Linked DNA regions of Homo sapiens: all the other regions are linked to region 1. Evidence: promoter capture Hi-C in 16 types of primary human blood cells and fetal thymus (Javierre and others, 2016). All regions are on one chromosome and are shown on one strand. The core of a region is centred on a gene start or on the middle of the fragment in contact, and the rest is flanking DNA. Distances in the headings are between cores, read along the strand shown. Region 1 holds the start of SPATS2L (spermatogenesis associated serine rich 2 like). Region 2 overlaps LOC124906112 (a long non-coding RNA gene). Region 3 overlaps SPATS2L (spermatogenesis associated serine rich 2 like).

What was found. The method cuts DNA at HindIII sites, captures the fragments that hold promoters and counts their contacts. A CHiCAGO score of 5 or more calls a contact.
Region 2: a fragment that was not itself captured here is called in contact with the fragment with the promoter of SPATS2L in region 1 in 1 of 17 cell types (erythroblasts); the score reaches 6.5 in erythroblasts.
Region 3: a fragment that was not itself captured here is called in contact with the fragment with the promoter of SPATS2L in region 1 in 5 of 17 cell types (endothelial precursors, M1 macrophages, total CD8 T cells and 2 more); the score reaches 8.2 in endothelial precursors.

What each region holds. Positions count from the first base shown.
Region 1 is chr2:200,305,051-200,309,089 of GRCh38, forward strand. SPATS2L (spermatogenesis associated serine rich 2 like) reads left to right here and starts at 1,643. Exons shown (of 13, transcript NM_001100423.2): 1 at 1,643-1,872. RefSeq lists an enhancer at 1,018-1,117 and silencers at 1,528-2,257, 2,278-2,607. The HindIII fragment of the contact is 4,184 bases long and covers 1-4,039 here.
Region 2 is chr2:200,051,127-200,055,165 of GRCh38, forward strand. The region is part of intron 1 of LOC124906112 (a long non-coding RNA gene); the gene reads right to left. Among named protein-coding and RNA genes, the nearest start is that of MAIP1, 98 kb to the left of the region's middle. RefSeq lists an enhancer at 3,520-4,039. The HindIII fragment of the contact is 452 bases long and covers 1,669-2,120 here.
Region 3 is chr2:200,437,566-200,441,604 of GRCh38, forward strand. SPATS2L (spermatogenesis associated serine rich 2 like) reads left to right here. Exons shown (of 13, transcript NM_001100423.2): 7 at 1,557-1,763; 8 at 3,084-3,219. The region is part of intron 3 of LOC101927741 (a long non-coding RNA gene); the gene reads right to left. Among named protein-coding and RNA genes, the nearest start is that of KCTD18, 70 kb to the right of the region's middle. The HindIII fragment of the contact is 2,905 bases long and covers 732-3,636 here.

The DNA.
Region 1 (4,039 bases), core at 393-2,892:
AGGCTCTGGCTCTGTTGCCCACACTAGAGCGCAGGGGTGTGATCCTGGCTCACTGCAACCTTAGCCTACCTGGTTCAGGTAATCCTCCCACCTCAGCCTCCTGAGTAGCTGGGACTACAGGCGTGCACCACCATGCCCGGCCAATTATTATTATTAGTTTTTTTGTTTTGGAGGGATGGAGTTTCACTATGTTGCCCAGGCTGGTCTTGATCTCCAGGGCTCAAGAGATTTGCCCACCTCGGTCTCCGAAAGTGTTGGGATTACAGGTGTGAGCCACTGGGCCCAGCCCTCAGTTTATCTGTAAAACAGGACAAAAGTAGTACCTACCTGATGGGGTTCTTCCAAGGATTAAATGAGCTAGTACTTATAAAGCACTTGCTAATGTCTGTTAAATAAATTATATTATCCACACACCAATCCAAGGCGACTATAAGGTAGCAAGAACCACTCCAAGTCACATAAGAAAATGAATTCCTTTCGTTTTAGCTCCTCTCTTTATTTCAGCAGTGCGTTGTCAACAGGGCCACATTATGTTAGCAGATTTGAACTTTATCCGAAAGGTGTTTGTATTTTATTTCAAATTATGAATTCCTGAACATCGGATTATGTACGATTCTGCAGTGCCCTCGGAGGCCCATTAGAGTCTGGAGCTCGAGAAGCATAACAAACTCTGGTCTGATATTTGTAAGGAGCTTGACAGCCAAGGAGCCACTCAGAAACAGTTATTGGTATTGCCAAAAAAAAAAAAAAAAAAGGAAGCTAAGAAGTCACCCTTCTAAATAAATAAATAAATAAATAAATAAATAAAAACCTGAATTGGAGAGCTGCCTGCATTTCACTCTACTGCCTCTGGAAGAAGAGTGTTATCTAAAGTGCTTCCATCATGAATAATGATTGAGAAACTGCTTTTACTCTCCCGACTACTGTACTCCCAGGCAGAAACCCACGGCTGAAGCCCACGATGCCCATGTGTAACTTGGTTATTACACACACGTTTGGAGCCCAGTGTGCAGACCCGCAGCGCAGAGGAGGCGGCGGAACACCCCGGGTTGGTCGGGTTTCCAAGGGCTGACCCGAGCTCCAGCACTTTTTCCGCGCCTGATTTTTCAGGTCATTTTCGAATGGGCTATCTTTGCTTACATTTTGAGCTTGGATCCTCTCCAGAAAGCATTACTACCTTCTAAAAGGAAAAACATCTCGTATTTGCAGACAGTGCTGAGGGAGCAAAGTTCATTTTCTCGGGTAGGAGAAGATGATTCTCTTGCAACACGTGCGGATTGTGACAAAATCTTTCATTAACAAGGGGAGTTTCGGTGAAGTGGAGGTTTGGGGAAAGGCGAGGAAGTCGGTCTGGAGCAAGCAAGCAAAGTGCGGAAGCTGTACTGGGATTCTTCTAGAAAGTGGGGTGGGAAAGGAGCTAGGGAGGGCGTGTGGAGGGACGAGATCTGTGTCAGAACGTGCGTGTGAGCGGATACAAAACCCGAGAGAGGCGTGAGCAGCGCTGTGTTTGCGAGCGGGAGCGAGGGGCGCCGGCTGGGGTGTGTGCTCCTGGTGAGTGACACCGAGGGGAAGGCGGGCGGGTCGGCGGGCGGGGGCAGCCTGCGAGGGGCGGGAGTGTCCCTGCGTGGGGCGGCCGAGCCGGAGTTGTGTCAGTGAAGGAATCCAGTCCGGGGGCCGAGCTGGCTGCGCCCTCCGCTGCAAGCGCCGGCAGCGCGGGGCGAGCTCCGGACGGCGCGCGGCCCAGGCAGCGGCTCCCGCTCGGCCCGCCCTCCGAGCCGCAGGGGCCGCCACCGCCGCGGCGCCTCCCCTGGCGACCGCGCCCCCGGGCCCCGGCTCCGGCCCGGGACGGAGGAGCCGGCGCTCGACACAGAGGTAAGCCCAGGACCCCCTCCACGCCGGGCCGGCTGGGGATGCAGGGCGCGGGCGGACGCGGAGGGGCCTGCGCGGCCGGGACGGAGACTCGGCTGGGCCGAGCATTCCGCAGCCCGGGCCGCCCAGCCTCCGCCGCCTCCCGGAGCGCTGGGTGTGGCCCGCGCTCGGCGCCGAGGCGGGCTGGTGGCGCGGACCGGACGCGAAGGTCGCCGTCCTTCCTTTCTCCAGCCGGCGCGGGCAAGCGGGAGGAGGCGCCGGCTGGGACGCACAGTGGCGCTCCCCGGGCGAGCGTGTGGCCGCCGCGCTCCGACGTGTACCCGCCCGCCCCGGATCTGAATCGCCCGCGGCCGCCGTCCCTCGCCTGCCGTCCTCCCGCGCGGGCGCCCCCGTTCCCTCCCAAGCCGGAAAGAGACCCACCGTCCCCCAGGCTGCTCTCTGGCCCGGAGCCGCAAAGCCCACGTCAGCCGCGACCACCCCGCCCTCGGATCCCAGCCGGGTGCGGGGGCCGCGGCCCCACTGAACCCCGCGCCCCTGGCGCCCAGCGGGAGTGGGATGCGTTGGCGTCCGCGCTGCGCGGGTGGGCTGGGGTGGCCGGAGCAGACGCGGAGCGCCCTGGCCGCGGGACGAAGCGGTCGCGCCGCCGCATTTGGGCGGGGGGACCCCGGAGTCCGCGGGCTGCGGACCCCAGCGGGAGACGGGGTTGTCGTAGGATGCGCTCGCGCTGGACGCCGGCGCACTCTGAATATCATGCTGCCGCACACGCGGGGCTGAAGGGCCGAGTCTTCACCTGCGCGGGGATGCGGCGGAAGCGTCGCGTCTTCGCGAGTGGAGGTTTCGTGTTCCCGCGGGGTTGGTGTGTTTTTGAACTTCACGAGCTTCTCATCCCCCCCGCAATCCTGGTTTTAGCAGATGTCGGGGTTTTGGAGACCTGACACTTTTCGTGAAAGATTCTTTCTGTACGTTTTCTTTTGGCTATATTACAGGGTTTGTAGCTTGAGAACTAGTGAAAACCCTTGAACTTCAAACACAGTCTCATTGCTTATTTTTTGAAATTTAAATATTAAAATATGTACCAGCCCCCTCACAAGCCGACAGACTTTAAGACAAACGACTGTGAAATTTTAGAACCTGTGCAGAGAAAGTGGTTTTATACCAGTACTTGAAATAGTAAGGTCGTGTAACCTTTTTAACATCGTTTTAGTTTGTCTTAAAGGAAGGTTTCAGCACCACTTTGACTGGTACTGTTTTCCAGAGTTTAAGCAGATGTATGTAATATAGCAGGGAAGAGGACAGGAAGTCAGAAATCTCTTCACTCTGAAAAAAAAAAAAGACTTCAAATAATACAACCAATACCCTGAAAATAGAGTGGCCGTCTGGATAAAGTATTTGATAGGCCTTATGAAATTGTGTTGCTTAACCAGAAAGCAATGTGTTGTTAGATAGGGCAGTTTTATCTAGTAACTGTCGTGTTTAAAAATATCTGTGTATGATATTCTTTGTTGAATTTTAACTGGGGAAAAATCAACTTTGGGAATGGGTTTCTATTTGGACAAGGCAAATACTGCAGTTTCTAATTAGAGTTTTGGAATAAGCTCAAGCTGTGTTAAAACCTATTGTATGGAGCAGCAGAACAGAAAACATGTCAAATCTGTATCTGTGTGGCAGAAAACATGTCAAATTCTGTATCTGTGTGGCTTTAAATACACACACACACACACACAGACACACAAACTAGAGACTAGCCCCAAAAGATAATTTGCATAAAAATACAATCACTTGAATGCAGAGAATAGCTAAAGACGTTAGTAAAAACTGAACATCTGGGAAAAGACTGTATTAATTGGCAATTTTCTTTCTTTAATCCCTGAAAATATTAAATGATTTTCTAAGAATCAACTTAGTTTAATGTGCTCATTTAGACAGGCAAAATGATCAAGACTCCTTTTGTATTCATTTTGTTTTAGGGAGCCCCCTAATGAAAGTCTTCAGTAAATAGTTTTTCTGCATGCACTGATTTTCCTGAGGCCATTGTGGAGAGAGTTATCTGTGGGCTTGAGAAGCTGCTCTGCCACACCAGTAAGGATCAGGGAAAGAAAATACTTAGGCCACACCGTTGCAGTCTTTGATTGCATGCCAGTCTGAAGCATTTTATGGACCCGTTTTGCCA
Region 2 (4,039 bases), core at 645-3,144, 250 kb before region 1:
AGGGCACCGGGGGAAATTGCTTGGTGAGCTTCCCTGGTGCATTTGAACTTTGCCAACAGTAAACTGGAGGTGGGGTTTCTGTTTCCTGGCATATGTTCCTATTCCTTTTTAGTTTAGTTTTATTTTATTTATTTATTTTTGAGGCAAGGGAAGAGGGAGGATATTCTGCTCTCTTGTTCCTATCAGGAAGGAATTTTTCTCACCTCTTCTTTGTAAATACAAATCTGGGCTAGTTACTATGGTGTCAGACAGCCAGAGAATTTAATCTATAACAGGTTTAGCAATAATCCTATTAAATGGTCTTCTGTGTTCTTTGAAATTTCGATTAGCGAGGGAAGTGCCCATGTTGAAAGCCATACGGTCTTGCATGAAAGGAATTATGCTCCTAGCTGCAGTTGGCCCATAGGATCATGGTATTTTTTTTTTTTTGAGCCCTATCCCATGATGATTTCTCCTCACCTACCAGTCCTCCCTATTTGAGAGTTTTTAAAACTTTGCAAAAAGTGAAAATGCTTTGTGGTTAACTGTGAGGGTAAATCAATTAGTTCTGGATCAGAGTAAAAAGACAATTATCTCGTTGGTTTTCTGTGTAGCAAACACTTCATAGTCAGAGACCTTGTCTGTCTTGTTGATGACTGAATCACTGCCTCCTAAGATGGCAGCTGGCACATTGCAGGCATTTAATAAATATTTGCTGAATGAATGGATGACTGAATGACAATTATTTGGCTAAACTCGAGACATTGACTATAAAGCACTAAACATGATCACTTATATTCTTTATCATGATCATGTGTGAAGAGGAGAGGCTAACATAAATGTTTTTCAAAGCTTTGGAGTGATAAAATGATAGTTCATTATCCAAGCAAAACAGATCCATCTATATAGGAATATCATATCCAAATTTGGCAAAGCCAAACTGCATGATAAAGTCCAATAATCCATATGTGAACCCATCTTTGTGGTTCTTCTAAAGTAACCAAAGGATTTTTGCATTGTTACATTGCTCTGCTATTCCATAAAATCAAAGTGGGAAGGCAGGGGCACATGGCCTCAAGAATCCTTTGTTTTCTGCAGCTGAGGTAAGGATTATTATCACGTCTGCTGGTTTCCAGTTAGACTTTACATGTTCAGGGTTGTACTCTTTTCACTATGACTTCAAAATCCAATGATAAAGAATTGAGTAGCATTTGATTCTGTGCTGGTTAACATAGGTCTTCCCAACTATAAAGAGGTTTCAGATAAAGACGTCAAAGTAAGAACTCATCTCTACAAAGGCAATTTGGAAGAGAAGGTGACATGCTTGACCCTTCCCACATTTTATTATAGTCTTACCACATTTTAATTTTCCTCCCCATCCTTTACTTGTTTCCATTATTATCTCTTTTTCAGCTTTTCTTTCCCTGGCCTTCTTTTCTCCTCTCAGTTTCCTTCTTTCTTTTTTAAAATATATTTTTTAAAAGAACTTGTATTTGCTTTATCTGTGTAATTTTCAGTCAGCGGTGTTTATTTATTGTTTTCTACCTACAAAGACCTTAAAAAATTATTGCCCTTCCTGAATACCATGTTCAAAGAGATTTTTGTCTATTAAGTTTCACTTAAGTAAACATTCATGACTTCCTCCTGCCCCTTTAAAAATTCATCAAAGTTTATATAACTGCCTATCAAAGCTTCTGATTAGTATGACGTAGTCAATGTCAATGTTGAAAATCTATCTACATAAAGGCACTTGAACGTTGGTCTTTTAGGTAACTTTAAGCCTGTATCTTGGTGATCTTGCTGACTAGTAACCAGGCAATGACAAACTCTTCCTAGTTGGATCTACTTTTAACTCAGAAAGAATGAACAAAAAGAAAAGGAGGAGGTCATAGCTTAAAAAACAAGACAGTCATGACTGAGTTGTTAAAAAATAAAACCTAGATTTATATTACTATGCTTAAATCATTTAACATAATAACTTCATTTTATTGCAAATATGATGCTACCCAGTGACCTTATATCCTTTAATGACGACAAAGGGATGATAGTGTTTTCCCTCAGGGAACTAGAAAAAAAAAACAACCAAACAAAAAATGCACTTAAAAGTTTGTCCTATAGAGACCCTATTAGAGACTTTTAGAAGCTTGTAGACATTGAATTAGAAAAGATCTGGAAATTGTAAATTGTCTTTCCTTCGTACTGTCTTTTTAAGCTGATGTATTGCAATGTGTACTATTGTTTCATAATCATTAGAGGACTTTTCTGAATTAAGTTGCCAGAGCCAGAATGTATTTCTGGGCAATTAAAAACATTGTCTTTCACATTTTGCTGGCTACATCACTGAGAGGCTAAGTGACCTTATAAACACCTTACATTTTCCACCAAATTTAGCACATTAATAGGAGAAAATTCCGACTTATCTTGCACAAATATAGGGGAAATTTAGTGCATGAAGCAATTCCAAACAGAATTATATTAATTGAATAGTATGTTATTCTAGTTTACTTGAGTACAAAGGGTAGCAGGAAGCGAGGGACGGAATATAACCCAACTAATTCTGTTAGTACAGAGTATTAGTTTGACTCAGTTACTCTCAGTAATGAGGATTCATGATAAGGATACATGATAAGGAATATGATCTTTTTTAGCAAGCCATAATACTCCTTGTTCTAGACCTTCCAAAATGGAAAAATATACCACATAATGCTGCCTGGCATTATGAGACCTAACTTCACTTCATAATTAGTATTTATAGTCCCCAAAGAAAAGACTTGATAGGGATCCCTTACCTTGTCTCACGTAGAACCACCCTTTGGACAAACTTCCCAGGTCAGGCTGTTTGAGAGGTGGTTGTTCTCTCTCAGTGGAGCTGATGAGTGTATGCTTTTGGTTTATCCACTAATTTTTGGTTGCATTGTTGTGGTCTGAATGGCAGGGCTGGTTTCACCCAACATATAAACACTAGATACGTGAGCTTAATGCTGGAAAATATCTCTTGAATCTGCATTCTTTTTCCCTACCAAGAAAGAGTGACAACCGGAGATCATCTAGAAACTTTATGGCTTATCCCATAAATGTGTGGGCTGAAATAAGGTTAGATACTTTTCCTAAATTATCTGGTTCAGTCAGTCAAAGTTGTTGGTACTTAACCTCCAAAATAGAGATAACTGTGGCTTAATAGACTGTCTCAGTAGGAGAAAAGTTCTACATTTTATTTTCAAAATGATTATCAATAGACTTACCTGTCATGTTTGAATTGTAAATGCAGATTAAAATAAGGCTCACTTTATGGGAGCACCACTCTCATGGAGAGAAGGAGTGGCAAGGGAACATCACTCTCTCCAACTGGACCATCCAGGTGGACACTGGGATTCATAAAGGAAACAACTCAACCCATAGAGAATGGAGAGGAGCAAGAGAGGACAACCGCCCACCTGGGAGTGGCACAGAGCCTCCACTGCACTGACACAGAGAGCTCCGTGGAGTTTGGGCAGAGCCACTTGCTCAGACCATTGCAGAGTTCTGGGAGCCTTGAATCCCCAAGCATCCTGGCACCAGTGACTGCATCTCTAGCAATGGGGGAGGCCAGGCTGCCTTGCATGCCCCCAGGACAGGGATCGAATCCCATGGGGCTGAGCAGCAGATGGTCTGCGGGCCTCATCTGTGCTGCACCTTGCTTGGTGGGGCCCACTGGCCTAGGAACCTAGTGCAGCCACCCCAGCCCCGCCTGGGCTGTCGGGCCAGGAGTAGCTCTGCACTTCCCTGGCATGGAGCTCCTGGAGGGAGCAGGCAGGCCGCCATTTTTGCTGCTTTGCAGCCCTCATTCCTGTTGCCCTTGGGCCAGGGAGGGAGCACAGTGATTAGGGACAACGTGGACCCCCAGAAGAGGGCAGCAGACTTGCAGGAAAGCGGCCAGACTATTTTCCAGGTGGGTTCCCACCCCTCGATACTCCTCACTGAGCAGGGCCTCCAGACCTGAGACTCCAGGCACTCGCAGCCTGGGCTCTCGGGTAGTGGCTACTTCCCTGGGACGGAGCTCCCGGAGGGAGCATATAGGCCA
Region 3 (4,039 bases), core at 934-3,433, 130 kb after region 1:
AGGATAAAATTGCATACTACCATTTGAATCTGTTTTATTACTGGAGGAAATGCTGTTTTCAGTACTTATGTACTTTGTTTACTACCTTTGCTGAACATTTTGTGTACTGTGAGTAAATTTTTAAGGGTATTCATTCAGCTCATAGAAAGTATGTTGTGCTTTCTTGATATGTAAGTTATGAATGATGGATTCAACTGAAGTCTAATTATATTGATCATGAATGGACTAATGTCTAAAATCAAATTGACTAGGACCTAGATCATATTCCTTTGTATTTTTTCAAGTGTAGTCTCTGACTGTGTCAGGTAAGATATTCATTGTTTTTTATTTTTTTCTATGAAATTGTTTCAAATGTACTTTAATTAGATCATAATTCTACAGAAAGCCATCGAGCCAGACACAAGTACTAGGGCTTCAAAACAGAATTGAACTCAGTGTTTGCCCTTGGGAAGATTGCAGCCTCTGCAAGGCAGGGGTGAGGGGCAGATATGGAAGCCTTGTGTTAAAATATAAAACCGTGGTACCATGGTTTTAAGTAAAGCAAGGTACCATGGGAGTAGAGAGAAGCAGGGCAAGGGTGACTATCTGAAAAGGCTGGGTTTTACAAAGATGACTGTGTTCTGTTTGAGTGCAAGCCAGTCAGCCAGACAAGTGAAGACATTCCCACAAGGTCACCCAGGACATAAGGAATACCAGAACTTGGTTCTCCTAGATCAAAACTGCACTCATCAAGCTTTCTACAAGAACCTGGCCTTCAAGAGCACACTGGCTTCCCTTTTCTCACACCCAAAACTTTCTCTGGTAGTAAGATGTTAAGAGTGATACATTTCCGTTTCAGGCCACTAACATGCTATTTAATTCATTCCAGCAATAACTAAATGGGAACCTACCTTTAAAAGATGCCAAAAGCAACATCCTGCTAATTGATTGCCACATCTATTAAATCTCCAGAGAGAATCTGACTCCCTAGATTTTAAATATAGTTGAGATATTATGATGATGTTTTCTGATTTAAGCCCTCCATAAATTAGATGCAATGATTATAGTATCTGTTGTCACTTCATTTTTGCTCTATCTCCAGTCACGCTTCTGCCTTCATTAATTCGGAATGAAATATCACAAGACATTAATGTAGCACTTGGAGATAGGAGGGCTACATTTTTATAGCCTCAATATGAAATTGTACTTAAAAGACTCATAAGCCTTTACTGGAATAGCAGGGGGGAAAAGGCACTGCTCATCTTCTATAAGCCTCTTAATAACCTTCCTGGATAGTTATGGATGAGGAAACTAGGGCTCAGAGATGCCCAGGGTCACTCTGCAAGTAATTACCAGAGCCAAAACATGCCCAGGTCTTTCTACTCAAAATACAAGGCTCTTCTAGTACACCCTCTAATCTTCTGGGGATTCTTTTAAAACAGTTTCTTGACTGTTTGCAATGAAAGGCATTATTGCCAATATGTAAACAAAAACAAAAATCTTGGCATCCTCCATCACTTTATCGTCAGTGTTTTTAGTTTATCACTTCACAGTCATTATTTGGTGTTTTCTTACAGAAGGCAACAGACTACTGCAACAGAAACTATCCTTAGATGGGAACCCCAAACCTATACATGGAACAACAGAGAGGTCAGATGGCCTACAGTGGTCAGCTGAGCAGCCTTGTAACCCAAGCAAGCCTAAGGCAAAAACATCTCCTGTTAAGTCCAATACCCCTGCAGCTCATCTTGAAATAAAGCCAGATGAGTTGGCAAAGAAAAGAGGTAAAGTGATTTCTTTTGCACAAATGATTCAACATATTTTGCACATACAGAAAAGTGCCAGAGTGACAGAACTTTCCAAAAGATGCTGCTTAGTGAAGAGAGATGCACATGAAATTGCATTTTTTTTTCTGTGACCCACATAGATGGAAAGGCAGAGGTGATTCCTCCCATGTAATCAAAGGTCTTGAATATTTAAATAGAATTACATCTCCTTTCTCTGCCCCTCTGAGACCATTCTTGTTGTAGGCATGGATAAACTTACACCACAAGTACCTTCTATCCTAATATCTTATAAAGCAAGTGCTCATTCAGGAGCTCTTTTAAAAATGTAACTGCTAAAAGGGACTCATGTTTCCCTGATACACAATTGCTTGACTTGCATTGAACAAAGATGAGTCTGGAGGCTGGTATATGTTCTTCAGATATGGTCTTCCCAATGTAAATTCAGTTCTGTGTTAGAATTTACACACAATGTAACATTGAAAGAGGGTTTTATATTTGACACGCTGGATTTTTATGATTTTTCTGAGCTTGGATATACTTGATACGTAACTGGTATTAAAAATGAAAATCACTTCCTTTCTGATTCCCAGAAGATTAAATACTATTCTTTTCATTCAGCCTCAGTTGTATCTGATTTCCTTGGCTTTGGTTTGATCTACTTTCTCATTTTTCTTGAGGGGGATTTCTTTCTTCTACCAAACATGGCCTGATTGTGATAAGTACAATCTGCCTGTTTGTGATGTACTATCTGTAGACCCTGGTGACAGTTGCAGGAAATCAGGCGAGATGGGCACCCATAGAGCTGCTTTCAATGCTGCTGCTCTAATTACAGGCCTGGCTTCGGATGATGGGGCCAGTGCCAGCGTACCTGGCATTGATGCCCCATCCTCTCTCTATCTCATTTGTACCTCTCCCAGTCTCTGTGTCATTTTCCTCTTCCAAAAGCCCTGCTGGCTTTTAACCACGCAAAGTGGTGTTTATAGAGAGAGCCAGCAGCACAAATGGTCTTTAGACGTATCAGATTCTAAGGCACTGCAGTTTGTGATAGAATATAATGATGACAGCCTCCTTCCAAAGAGTGCAGGAGACAAGCGTACCCCAGATGGCCCAGTCAGAGACCCCACTGGTGAAATCATAACAGCCTCAGGTGCCACACAAGCCACCCACACTGGGTTACAAACATTCTCCTGATGGAACTTTTACTAGACAAAAGATGAGTCCCTTTTTCTGGTGGGCTAATTGCTTTGTTTTGTTGTTTAGCTTACAAACAAAGGATTAAATGCTCAAGTTAATAATATTTTTTGACATCAATTTTAGGCCCAAATATTGAGAAATCAGTGAAGGATTTGCAACGCTGCACCGTTTCTCTAACTAGATATCGCGTCATGATTAAGGAAGAAGTGGATAGTTCCGTGAAGAAGATCAAAGCTGCCTTTGCTGAATTACACAACTGGTGAGTGATTCAACGTAGGAACCATAAATTTGTGATGCTTGAGCTGTTCCAACAGGTAAAAGTATCAGATGGAAAACGTTGTTTATTTAATACATAAACATCACAGAATAACTCTCCAGCAAATTTTGTTAAGCCCTGCAGGCAGTAGCATGTATCTTGGGAATAAAAAAGAAGATAAAGTATTTGAATAAAAAGAAACCTGATAGACATAATTCACTGGAGTTTGAAGTTGGCCCAAAACTATGAATGATGTAAAACAAAACCTCAACAAAGAATAAAACCTCAAAAAATAGTATTTTTGACAAATCCCTGGAAGGCTAATATCATGAATACTACTAGGAAAACAAAATATTTTCCAGCACTATAATTATAAAATAAGAAGAATTCCCTTAACGAAATTCAGAAACATCTCACATAAGCTTAGCAACAGAGTCCCATTCTTGGGTATCTTTAAGACTAGAATTTAAACATGGTGCATCAATATGGTTTTGGTCCTGCCTTGCCCTTCCCTGCTACTGATTTTGATGGAAAATGTTTGAACCCTGTATATTTGCTCATGTCTACAATTGAAATGATATATCTGTTAATAAAGGTTTAGTTATTAACAGTAGAAAAATGTTCTCAGCGTATCAGTTAGGTCTCTTTCAGTTTGGAGTGGCAGAAATCAAGTCACAGAAGTTAAAGACAAAAGAGAATTTATTGGCTGATATACATGAAAATTACAGAAGTTTCCTTCAGACAAATTTGACTGTAAATCCTCATTATGTTATCAGGACTCAGTCTGTCTCACCCTCTCTCCTTCCTCTCTCCTGGTGTCTCC